3 separate regions of the Homo sapiens genome follow, and all the other regions are linked to region 2. Evidence: promoter capture Hi-C in 16 types of primary human blood cells and fetal thymus (Javierre and others, 2016). All regions are on one chromosome and are shown on one strand. Each heading gives the region's core, a stretch centred on a gene start or on the middle of the fragment in contact. The rest is flanking DNA. Distances are from core to core; before and after follow the strand shown.

Region 1 (3,801 bases), core at 352-2,851, 5.3 Mb before region 2:
CAAAGTGTTGGGATTACAGGTGTGAGCCACCGCGCCCGGCCAACACTGTTCTTTTCTGCAATCTATTCTTCTACTTAACAAAGATTAGAGGACTTTACAGTTGCCTTTTTTTTTTTTTTCCAGACGGAGTCTCACTCTGTCGCCAGGTTGGATTGCAGTGGCACGATCCCGGTTCACTGCAACCTCCGCCTCCCAGGTTCAAGCGAGTCTCCTGTCTCAGCCTCCCAAGTAGCTGGGGCTACAGGCGCGCGCCACCAGGCCGAGCTAATTTTTTGTATTTTTAGTAGAGACGGGGTTTCACCGTGTTGGCCAGGATGGTCTCAATCTCTTGACCTCGTGATCCACCCGCCTCGGCCTCCCAAAGTTCTGGGATTATAGGCGTGAGCCACTGTGCCTAGCCTGCCATTACGTTTGTAATCCCAGCACTTTGGGAGGCCGAGGCAGGCGGATCACGAGGTCAGGAGTTCGAGACCAGCCTGGCCAACATAGTGAAACCCCGTCTCTACTAAAAATACAAAAATTAGCCGGGCGTGGTGGCGCGTGCCTGTAGTCCCAGCTACTCGGGAGGCTGAGGCAGGAGAATCGCTTGAACCCGGGAGGTGGAGGCTGCAGCGAGCCGAGATGGCCCTACTGAACACCAGCCCAGGCGACAGTGTGAGATTCCTCTCAAAAGAAAAAAAAATAATAATCTTTCTGCCAGAGGTGAGAGAGCAGAAAAAAAATTAATCAGATTCTCAAATTCCTGTACGTCTCTTAGTAGAGACGGGTTTCTCCTTGTTGGTCAGGCTGATCTTGAACTCCCAATCTCAGGTGATCCGCCCGCCTCGGCCTTCCAAAGTGCTGGGATTACAGGCGTGAGCCACCGCGCCCGGCCACAAGACGTTTTATTGCAACATAAAAACAGGATGTAACGAGTCTTCCAATCACCAATGTAATTAGAGTTGGTTACCAAGTTTCCCCACGCGTCTTCCACCATGAGGGAGAAACGGACTGCAGACAAACCTAGCACCCCTTGAGCAGTTTAATTCGTACTATAAATATGTAGGCACCGTAAGGACGCGATTCTCCAGTTTGCCAGGCCTTTTTCTATCCTTTTGGGGGCACAAGGCGACCTTGCCTCCTGATTCAAAAACTTCGTAAACGTCAATCCTTCTACCCTTTTCTGGTCAGCCCACGAAAGCAGCAGCATGGCACAACTCCCAGCCTAGAGTTCGGGCACTGCCTGTCGTCAGCATAACGAAGAAACCTACACCCACGAAGACTTCAGACCCCACGTGATTACATCACTCAACCACCAGCGCTGGCCTGGAGGAACCCGCTGTCACGTGACCGCTCGTGCCCAATGACCGAGGCCCACGCTTTCCAGACCGCCACAGTCGCTGTCACAGGGCCTGAGTTTGGGCGGCGCCCCGCCCCGGCCGCACGGTGCGCCGGCGTTAATCCTCCCCGAAGGTTCCGGCAGCCAAGATTGCAGGTTCCCACCAAGCATTGTTTCCGAACTGGGCCACGAGAGCGTGTCCCTGATTGGCTTGCTCTGGAGGCTGGGAAGGGACCTGTTAGAGACTGGGACCACTTCCTGAAGCGCGAGGCAGGAAGTTATATGCTTTTTCTGGAGTCCTGTAGAGAAAGTGCTCTCTGCCGCATTGATAGCAGCGAGAGCTGGAGGTGTTGGGTCGGGAGACCAGCCGTTCGATCCCGCCGCAGGTAGGAGCTGGTTTCCATCCTGGCACCACGGCACACACCTCCAGCCTCGAGCCCGGCGCTGCTGCCCGGGGGTCTCCTTCAGGCTCTTTGACGCCGTTCCAGGGGGCACCTATCCAGGCATCCTCTGGGCCTCTAGCCAGAGGACTGGCTCCCGGCTTCAGCACTCCGGGCTGCAGTAAGAAGTGCCCTTATCGCTCTGAGCCCTGCCACCATCCCGTGAACCACCGAAACCCTGGTCCAGCGCGACAGCCTTGGACCTGGGACTGGACGGATCCAAAACGCTCAGCCTCGGCCCCCCACAGACGGGGCTCTGCATCGTCTCTGATATGTCACCCACCATCTCCCACAAGGACAGCAGCCGGCAACGGCGGCCAGGGAATTTCAGTCACTCTCTGGATATGAAGAGCGGTCCCCTGCCGCCAGGCGGTTGGGATGACAGTCATTTGGACTCAGCGGGCCGGGAAGGGGACAGAGAAGCTCTTCTGGGGGATACCGGCACTGGCGACTTCTTAAAAGCCCCACAGAGCTTCCGGGCCGAACTAAGCAGCATTTTGCTACTACTCTTTCTTTACGTGCTTCAGGGTATTCCCCTGGGCTTGGCGGGAAGCATCCCACTCATTTTGCAAAGCAAAAATGTTAGCTATACAGACCAAGCTTTCTTCAGTTTTGTCTTTTGGCCCTTCAGTCTCAAATTACTCTGGGCCCCGTTGGTTGATGCGGTCTACGTTAAGAACTTCGGTCGTCGCAAATCTTGGCTTGTCCCGACACAGTATATACTAGGACTCTTCATGATCTATTTATCCACTCAGGTGGACCGTTTGCTTGGGAATACCGATGACAGAACACCCGACGTGATTGCTCTCACTGTGGCGTTCTTTTTGTTTGAATTCTTGGCCGCCACTCAGGACATTGCCGTCGATGGTTGGGCGTTAACTATGTTATCCAGGGAAAATGTGGGTTATGCTTCTACTTGCAATTCGGTGGGCCAAACAGCGGGTTACTTTTTGGGCAATGTTTTGTTTTTGGCCCTTGAATCTGCCGACTTTTGTAACAAATATTTGCGGTTTCAGCCTCAACCCAGAGGAATCGTTACTCTTTCAGGTAGTGTATTTAAGCTATTATGGTGTTAGGTTTATTTATCCTTTTGAAAGAGTGTGTGACGTTGGAGGGAAGCTCATTAATTTACTGGAAATCATTGTATGGGAGATAACTCAAGGTAAGTTTTCTGTTTCGTCCAAATGAGCTTCTTTGAAATATTAAAGCCAAAATGAATGATATTAGAGCAATCAAATGATCACTATGCGGTTAACAGGGAGAGGCAACCCATCAAATAACACAACCGAGTCCAGGGATTCATGCCACTTGCTTAATACACAAATGCACACTTTTAAAAAGTGTGGCTCATATGGTTCACATTTTTCCTTTTGTCTTGTTGGTTTTAGGTTTCTAGCTCTATACTTTCTAATCCATTTCTACCCCTACCGTTGTACCCAGAATCCAGCCTTCTAGTGAATGGAACAGGGTTTATTCGTTCAAACATTATTGAACCAGCTAAGGGACGGGATTCTAAGGCCTCTAATGAATAAGGCAGAGTTCTGCACTCAAGAAATAAGGAAGATGAACATTTTAGGAGAGTTCAGAGTTGCCAGTTAGTAACTGCCTTTGGGAGTCAGGCTTCACATTGCAGATAACATTTGACTTTGTTCTTGAATAAGATTCCACGAGGCCAGGAAATGGCACACCAGAATGCACAACACAAAGTAAAAGTGCACTGAGGCAGGAAAGTACAAAAAAGTACAGGACATTGCCTAAATTGTGGAACTGGGTTTGGGAAATCGTGCTGAGAAAGGCTGTGACTAAATTAGTAAGATTTTCTTTAATTACTATGGGAAAAGAGTTTAAAGTTTGTCCTGTAAGTAATGGAGGGTAAGTTCTAAAAAATTTCCCTGTTTCTCTGCATGAGTAAAACACATGTAAGTTTTTCTCTTTTTTCTTTTTTCTTCTTTTTTTTAATTGAGATAGTTGGGGGTCGGGGGGGCTGTCTCACTATGTTGGCCAGGCTGGTCTTGAACTCCTGGCCTCAGGTGATTCTCCCCC
Region 2 (3,543 bases), core at 959-3,458:
TTTTGGGACAGGTCTGTACTTAAAAACAAAGAAAAACAAAGTATCAAAAGTTTAACTGAAGTACTTACTACTTTTTTTTTAAGTTTAATTTGAAGGACTGAATGCCCTTCCCTACGTTTGTTTACACATTTTGAAAACCTTGCTATGAATAGCCTTGGTGGAAGATACACCTGGTAAATTATTGTGACAAGTGTTCCAAAAAAAGCAAACGTAAAAGGGGTATTTTGGAAAAGCAAAAATACAACCAAGAGATAAAAGTAGGATACAGAAAAATTAAATAATTTGAAAACTGCAATTTTTTAACACTTAAATCCGTAAGTATCACAACCCTTAACAATCTTTAGGTTAGTAAGATGATTACCACCTTCTAATTTAAAAATTAAGGAAAAAAGTTAATGGATAAACCATTCTCCCATTTGCAGTATTACATGAAAGATGATATATTCCAGAAACATAGTACATTGTACAGGGAGGTTTTTTTTTTTTTTTTTGAGACGGAGTTTCGCTCTTGTTGCCCAGGCTGGAGTGCAATGGCGCGTTCTCGGCTCACCGCAACCTCCGCTTCCCGGGTTCAAGCGATTCTCCTGCCTCAGCCTCCCAAGTAGTTGGGATTACAGGCATGCGCCACCACGCCAGGCTAATTTTTGTATTTTTAGTAGAGATGGGGGTTTCTCCATGTTGGTCAGGCTGGTCTCGAACTCCCGACCTCAGGTGATCCGCTAGCCTCGGCCTCCAAAGTGCTGGGATTACAGGCGTGAGCCAGCGAGCCCGGCCTTGTTTGTTTTTAATCAGGAGAAATTGCAATGTTTTAGTTTTCACTCAAAAAAATAAAGTCTCACCATCTTATTTTCTAACTCAAACATCACCTTAAGCCGATTTTTAAAAATTATTTTAAAGGTTTGCTTGGTCTTCAGTGAGTAAGTAAAAAGCTAGTTGGAGAAGTAGAAAATCAAAACTTTAATATACTAATACATGAAGTTCTTAAAAGAAGGTTTTAAATGAATGATGTCCAACACCAACATTCCAATGTATCCGGACTCTGATGATTTACTAATCTGGCTATTCTGGGATGGTCGGTTTATCCTGAGAAAATGTCATCTTTGGAGGTGTAAGATTCTCATTTCTATAATTTTACAATTTTGGTGTTTTTTCCCCCATCTTCAGAGCCTTTCAATCCCCACCCGCAACCCCACTTACCGTATAAAATGCATCATTGCCCTGCTTCTAACGATTAGGTTAAAAACAAAATCATTTAAAGAACACTGTCGAAAACTGCCGAGATCTGCTGGATACACAAGACAACTGAAAGGTAGAAAGAGATGCCAGAGCAGGCAACTCCTGGGAGGCAGGTGAGGAGGGAATGCGAGCGAACTGTCAATGTTTAGAAGAACAACGTGCTCCTTTTCTGACACTTTGGAAATGGCAAACAGAACCAGCATCCCCAGACCTTCCTTCCACCCCCTCCAGCTGTCAGACGCCCCATTCGCAAACTCAACAGTCCCCCCAGCAAGTTCAGGAGAAAAACGGCGTCTGTCACTCCCGGATCCTCTCCAATGACCCGAATTAACCTTCATCTAGCCAGGCAGCGAAGCCGCCCGGCATTACCCCGGAAAAGAGGGCAGAAAAAGTGAACTGACAAACGGTTGGCGCTCCTCCGCCGACGCGGCGCCTACTCATCCCCATCTCCGCAGGCAGCCGGGGTGGCTATGGCGTGACGCCGCCAACCAGTCCTCCGTACTAACAGGTGTCCCCCAGTCTTCGCCTTTCAGCGTTTAACCTTCTCGCGCCCTCCTTCCCCATTCCCACTGTTCTAGGAGGCAAAAAACAAGTGAGCAGTTATACCTGGAAAAGGAGGGCGGCCTGACCGCGCTAAGGGGCCGCGAGAAGGCTGGCTGTGGAAGGGCGCCGGCACAGTTCTACGAGGCCAGCGAAGATGCGGCCATTTAGGCCGCGAAGCCGGGGCCTCGCGTAGCCAATGGCGCCGAGCAGAGGCGCGGCGGGGTGGCCGGGGCCCAGTGCACATACTCACCAAATCTGGAACTTGAGCAGCGGCCCCGTGGCGTACTGCATCTTTAATCTCTTGCTGGGCACGCCGCCCAGATTGGCCGAGGCCTCGCTCCGGACCATCGCAGACGCCGCCACTAGGAGAAGCAGCAGAAGCCTCATCTTAAATGAGCCAGCCACTTCGGCCGCCCTCAGACAGACTGCAGCCAGCCCAAAGCCCAGGAGCGAGCTGCTCCCCACTGCGCAGGCGCGATCAGCCAAGGTCGGGGGAGGGGAGCAGTAATGCGCCTGCGCGGCCCGGCGCCCGCGCACACTCCTGGAGTGAAGAGCCGACCTGTTTCACTGTCCTGACTCACCACCATCTTGGTAGTGTGCAAGACTCTGGGACGGCATGAGAAAGGCAGAAAGGGAGCAAAGGAGCTGGTGGGGTGTCACAGGGCCTATGTATGAGGCAGATGTGAGTTCTGCATCCAGTTTTGCAATTTATCCATTTACCTGCCTGAGACTTGGAAACACCTACTTTATAGTCCTGATTCAAGTGTTGGCGGATGGAAGGGAGGAGACTCCTGACCCTCAGAATGGTAATGCTGAAATTTTTTGGGTGCGCTGTTATGGCCTTTTCTTTGATCTTACAATATTGCTTTCTCCTGAAAGAATATTAAACATAAGTTTTAGGAAACCTTTGGACAATTCCAAACATATCCAAAAATAGAATAACTACCTTAGCAAGCTTTAACAGTTACTATACATTTTGACAATCTTGATTTGTCTATATCTCTAAACACTTCTTCCCTTCCTAGGCATATTTGGAAGCAAATCTCAGACATCATATCATTTCATCTGTATATATATATTTTTAAACACGGTCTCACTGTCACCCAGGCTGGAGTTCAGTGGCGTGATCATAGCTTACTGCAGCCTCACACCCCTGGGCTCAAGCAGTCCTGCCTCAGCTTCCCAAGTGGTTAGGAATACAGGCACAGGCAACTATGCCTGGCTTACAATTATTTAAGCACATATTTCTAAAAAAGAATTATTATTAAAAAGAAAAAAAATTGACCACAGTGTTTCACATGTCCGTGTGAAGAGACTACCAAACAGGCTTTGTGTGAGCAACACAGCTGTTTATTTCACCTGGGTGCAAGCGGGCCGAGTCCGAAAAGGGAGTCAGCAAAGGGTGGTGGGATTATCATTGGTTCTTATAGGTTTTGGGATAGGCGGTGGAGTTAAGAGCAATATTTTGGGGGCAGGGGTTGGATCTCACAAAGTACATTCTCAAGGGTGGGGAGAATTACAAAGAACCTTCTTAAGGGTGGGGGAGATTACTGATCAACAAAGTACATTGATCAGTTAGGGTGGGGCAGAAACAAATCACAATGGTGGAATGTTATCAGTTAAGGCTATTTTCACTTCTGTGGATCTTCAGTTGCTTCAGGCCATCTGGATGTATATGTGCAGGTCACTGGGGATATGATGGCTTAGCTTAGGCTCAGAGGCCTGACATTCCTGTCTTCTTATATTAATAAGAAAAATAAAACA
Region 3 (3,533 bases), core at 810-3,309, 6.6 Mb before region 2:
GTAACCGTTTCTCGAAGCTCTTTAACTGCTTTTTATGCCCCGCCTTTCAAGATGCTATTCCTGGGTAATTCAAATGAAAATTAAACTTAATTAAAATTTCATTAATTTCATCAAGCCAGAATGCGCATTATACTTCCCAGCCTCCATATACAGTTGTCATTTCATATGGCTGGCACTCCACTTTCTCCCAGTTCACACGCCGAGAGAACGCATGAACACAACCCAAAACTTCCAAAGAAACCTAACAGCGAAGACATTTTGCAGTTACTTCCTTTTAACAGAACTCACAGGTTAAAAGGCGATGAACTAGCTCGAGGGGTGCCCGCGTTTTCACCCTTTTAGGAAATGAACAGCTTAAAGGTTTAACTTGAAGTTTCAGGAAATGACAAAATTACTTTTACTTTTCCTCAGACCCAGGAAGAGTCAAGCTCGCGGCAATAGAGCCGAACTAAGACAGAGGATTCTGCGGCTTACGTCACAAGAGGCGGCGCCGCGGAGGACCAAGGGAAAAGACCGCCCTACGCCACGGCCGCGCAAGGGTAAAACGCTAGCGGGTAAGTTAGATCCGGCCGCCGGATGCAGTGGCTGGCGGAGGGATCCTCTCTACTGCAACCACGCGAAGCCGATTGCGCCGCGCATGCGCCGGGAGACTCGGATTTGCCAGTTTTCCGGCTTTTGAGCCGCTCTTCCGGCGAGTCCCTGGGCTTCCGAGAAATGACGAAGTGGGCGGGGTCCTCCTTCTCGACCGTTGTGAAATCAATTCGCCTCCCCCGGAACCTGCTGCCGGGTCTTGCACATGTTCCGTGGCAGAGCTGACCGCGATCGTTCCTGGCTTGGATGCCTTGAGGCTTGGCGCCGGCGGCCGGACCTGCAGGGGTTGCGGGGGACTCAGGCCACTTGTCTGACGGGGCGTAGGCAGCAGACTACCACTGAGCTCCGGGAAAAGGGAAAGGGGAAACTGATCAGCCCCCTCCAGTCACTTACCCCACAGTTAAGCCCTCCAGAAAACCCACCTCCCTGCTTGACCTCTGATGGCCGTTTCAGGGCTTGTGACGATTATGATATCGCCAGAGTCCTTCCGTGAAAATTGGAAATGCCATAATAATACTTAAATTCACTTACCCCAAAACAAGCAGTGTGTTACGAGGTTTATCCAGAAGATGAAGAGCAGAGCAAAAAGCAAATGATAGCCGTGGCTTTCACGTTTAAAAACAGTTCTTAGGCAGCGCCGGGTCGCGGTCCTGTAGTCCTAGCTACATCGGAGGGTGAGGCGGGAGGACTGCTGAAGCCCGGGAGTTCGAGGCCAGCCTGGGCAACATAGTGAGACCTTGTCTCTAAAAAGAAATAAGAAATGTTCCTGAAAGTTTTCATGACAGGGTAGAGTCCAAGCTTTTCCAGCATATGACTTATCTACTGCTACCTTTCTCCCTGAACTCCGTCAGCCCAGGGAAGAATCCAGGTTGGGATTTATGTTTACAGATCCAAAACTAAGCACAAGAGATCTTTAAATCCCATGACAAAACAGTGCCTGAAAGAGCTGACCACCAGATCCAGCTTTTGAGTTTGAAGCTGAGATCGTCCTGCATACAGCAGGATTGAGTGAATGAATATAAATAAATTATAGGTATAAAAACATGGTCCACAGCCACACCACCCTGAACTTGCCCTGTCTTCTCTGATCTTGGAAGCTAAGCAGGGTCTGACCTGCTTAGCTAGTCCTTGAATGCGAGACCACCTTGAAACACTGGGTGCCGCAGGCTTTTGAAAAATAAAATATATATATACGTTTGATCATTCCCTAATTTTGTAATTCTGAAAATTAAGTATACACTAGATATTTTTATATCTAAAGGCAAGACAGTAATCCAGCCAACATTTTACACTGATCCCTCTTTCCCACCTTAAGAAATAATTCAGGTGGGGTTTTTTTTTGTGTTTTTTGTATTTTTTTGAGGCAGCGTTTTGCTCTTGTCACCCAGGCTGGAGTGCAATGGGCGCGATCTTGGCTCACTGCAACCTGCGCCTTCTGGGTTCAAGTGAGTCTCCTGCCTCAGCCTCCTGAAGTAGCTGGGATTAGAGGCATGCGGCACCACACCTGGCTAACACCGCAAACGGGGTTTCACCATGTTGGTCACGCTGGTCTCCAACTCCTGACCTCAGGTGATCCAGCCACCTCGGCCTCCCAAAGCGCTGGGATTACAGGCGTGAGCCACCGCGTCTGGCCAGTTCAGGTGTTTTTTAAGAGATGAGGTCTCCTTATGTTGCCCAGGCTGGACTTGAACTCCTGGGATCAAGTTATCCTCTCGCCTTAGTCTCCTGAGTACCTGGTACTACAGCTGTGCCCAATCACACCTGCCTTAACTGTGTTGTTTTTGAGAGTCCAGTGATAGTATATGAAAATGCTGTGAAAACTATAAAAATCAGGTATCAAATATAAGTCGACTCTCAAGACTAGGATGTAGATACCTCTGAACGTTTCCTGATTGCTGAAAATAAAAGTCTTGTTCTGTGCTATTTTTAAGATGGGGCTGATAAGCAATATCCAGTTATGTGCTGTATGCATGTGCCTGCGTGTGTATGTGCATGTGTGTGTGACAGTGACACTATAAAGAAACAGTTCCCTGAGGCAAAACTAGACTAGGTCTCCAGTGACTTCAATGTTACAATGCACATAGTTTAAATCGAAATTCCCTCTAAAGCACCTTGTGGTAGATCTGGAGAAAGCTTGTTCTTTTAGTACTAAGGTATCATTGTTTTCACTGTGGTAACAAATGCTATACTTGTTCCAGAGAACCAACATTACAGTAGAGCCCTTGTGTGTGGTCATGGAAAGAACACTGGACTGGGCATCAGAAAAACCACCGTTCTAATTTCACTCTGCTACTGGATCTAAAATCTTGGTCGAGTCCTTTCACATCTCTGAACTTCCATTTCTTCACATGTAATGGTCTTTGTTCCTCTCCTGTATGCTCCTGTAGCATTCTACCCTTTCATGTAGCATTCCATGTACTCTATTTGTTCATCACTTTGGTCTTAGTGCCTAGCATAACATAGTTTAGTGAATACTCAGTAGAGATTTGTTAGAGTCATTCTAACTGTACAAAATTTCATTATGGGCCATTTTTCTTTGATACTGATATTTGTTAGAATGCTATTTACTGTGGAAGAATAATCCCATGGATTACTTATTAATTGCAAGGGTGTTAAGGTACTTTTACAATGGAGAAATCTGATGGATACCACCTTAACAAATGATAAAAAGTAGCCAATAATTGAACAAAAAATTGGGCATCGTGTGCCCCTAGATGTGAAGCATGGAGATACAACATTACCTATGGAGTATTCCTTGAAAAATCTTTAACCTGAATCTAATCATGAGGAAATAATCAGACACATCCAAATTTAGGAACATGCTTCAAAGTAGTTGGCCTGGAATTGTGAAAAATATCACAAGACACACACACACACACACACACACACACACACACACACACAAACTGCTATAGAATTTAAACAGACATGACAGCTATACG

What was found. Contacts are between HindIII fragments. The CHiCAGO score rates a contact against its expected background, and 5 or more counts as called.
Region 1: a contact is called between the fragment with the promoter of SLC33A1 here and the fragment with the promoter of SELENOT in region 2, in 4 of 17 cell types (non-activated CD4 T cells, naive CD8 T cells, total CD4 T cells and 1 more). The highest score is 11.1, in non-activated CD4 T cells.
Region 3: a fragment that was not itself captured here is called in contact with the fragment with the promoter of SELENOT in region 2 in 1 of 17 cell types (naive CD8 T cells); the score reaches 5.8 in naive CD8 T cells.

The regions. Positions count from the first base shown.
Region 1 is chr3:155,852,227-155,856,027 of GRCh38, reverse strand. SLC33A1 (solute carrier family 33 member 1) reads left to right here and starts at 1,601. Exons shown (of 6, transcript NM_004733.4): 1 at 1,601-2,805. The coding sequence starts at 2,031. LOC105374174 (a long non-coding RNA gene) reads right to left here and starts at 1,275. Exons shown (of 3, transcript XR_924607.4): 1 at 950-1,275. RefSeq lists enhancers at 1,014-1,573, 1,944-2,013. The HindIII fragment of the contact is 4,607 bases long and covers 1-2,360 here.
Region 2 is chr3:150,601,986-150,605,528 of GRCh38, reverse strand. It overlaps SELENOT (selenoprotein T), which reads right to left and starts at 2,208. Exons shown (of 6, transcript NM_016275.5): 1 at 2,030-2,208. The coding sequence starts at 2,166. LOC124900547 (a long non-coding RNA gene) reads left to right here and starts at 2,346. Exons shown (of 2, transcript XR_007096128.1): 1 at 2,346-2,585. RefSeq lists enhancers at 1,750-2,049, 1,324-2,097, 2,070-2,219, 2,340-2,419. The HindIII fragment of the contact is 3,294 bases long and covers 1-2,736 here.
Region 3 is chr3:157,172,145-157,175,677 of GRCh38, reverse strand. It overlaps LOC101928236 (a long non-coding RNA gene), which reads right to left and starts at 1,978. Exons shown (of 10, transcript XR_007096141.1): 1 at 1,123-1,978; 2 at 289-929. It also overlaps the pseudogene RNA5SP146. RefSeq lists enhancers at 464-843, 130-1,329. The HindIII fragment of the contact is 1,335 bases long and covers 1,392-2,726 here.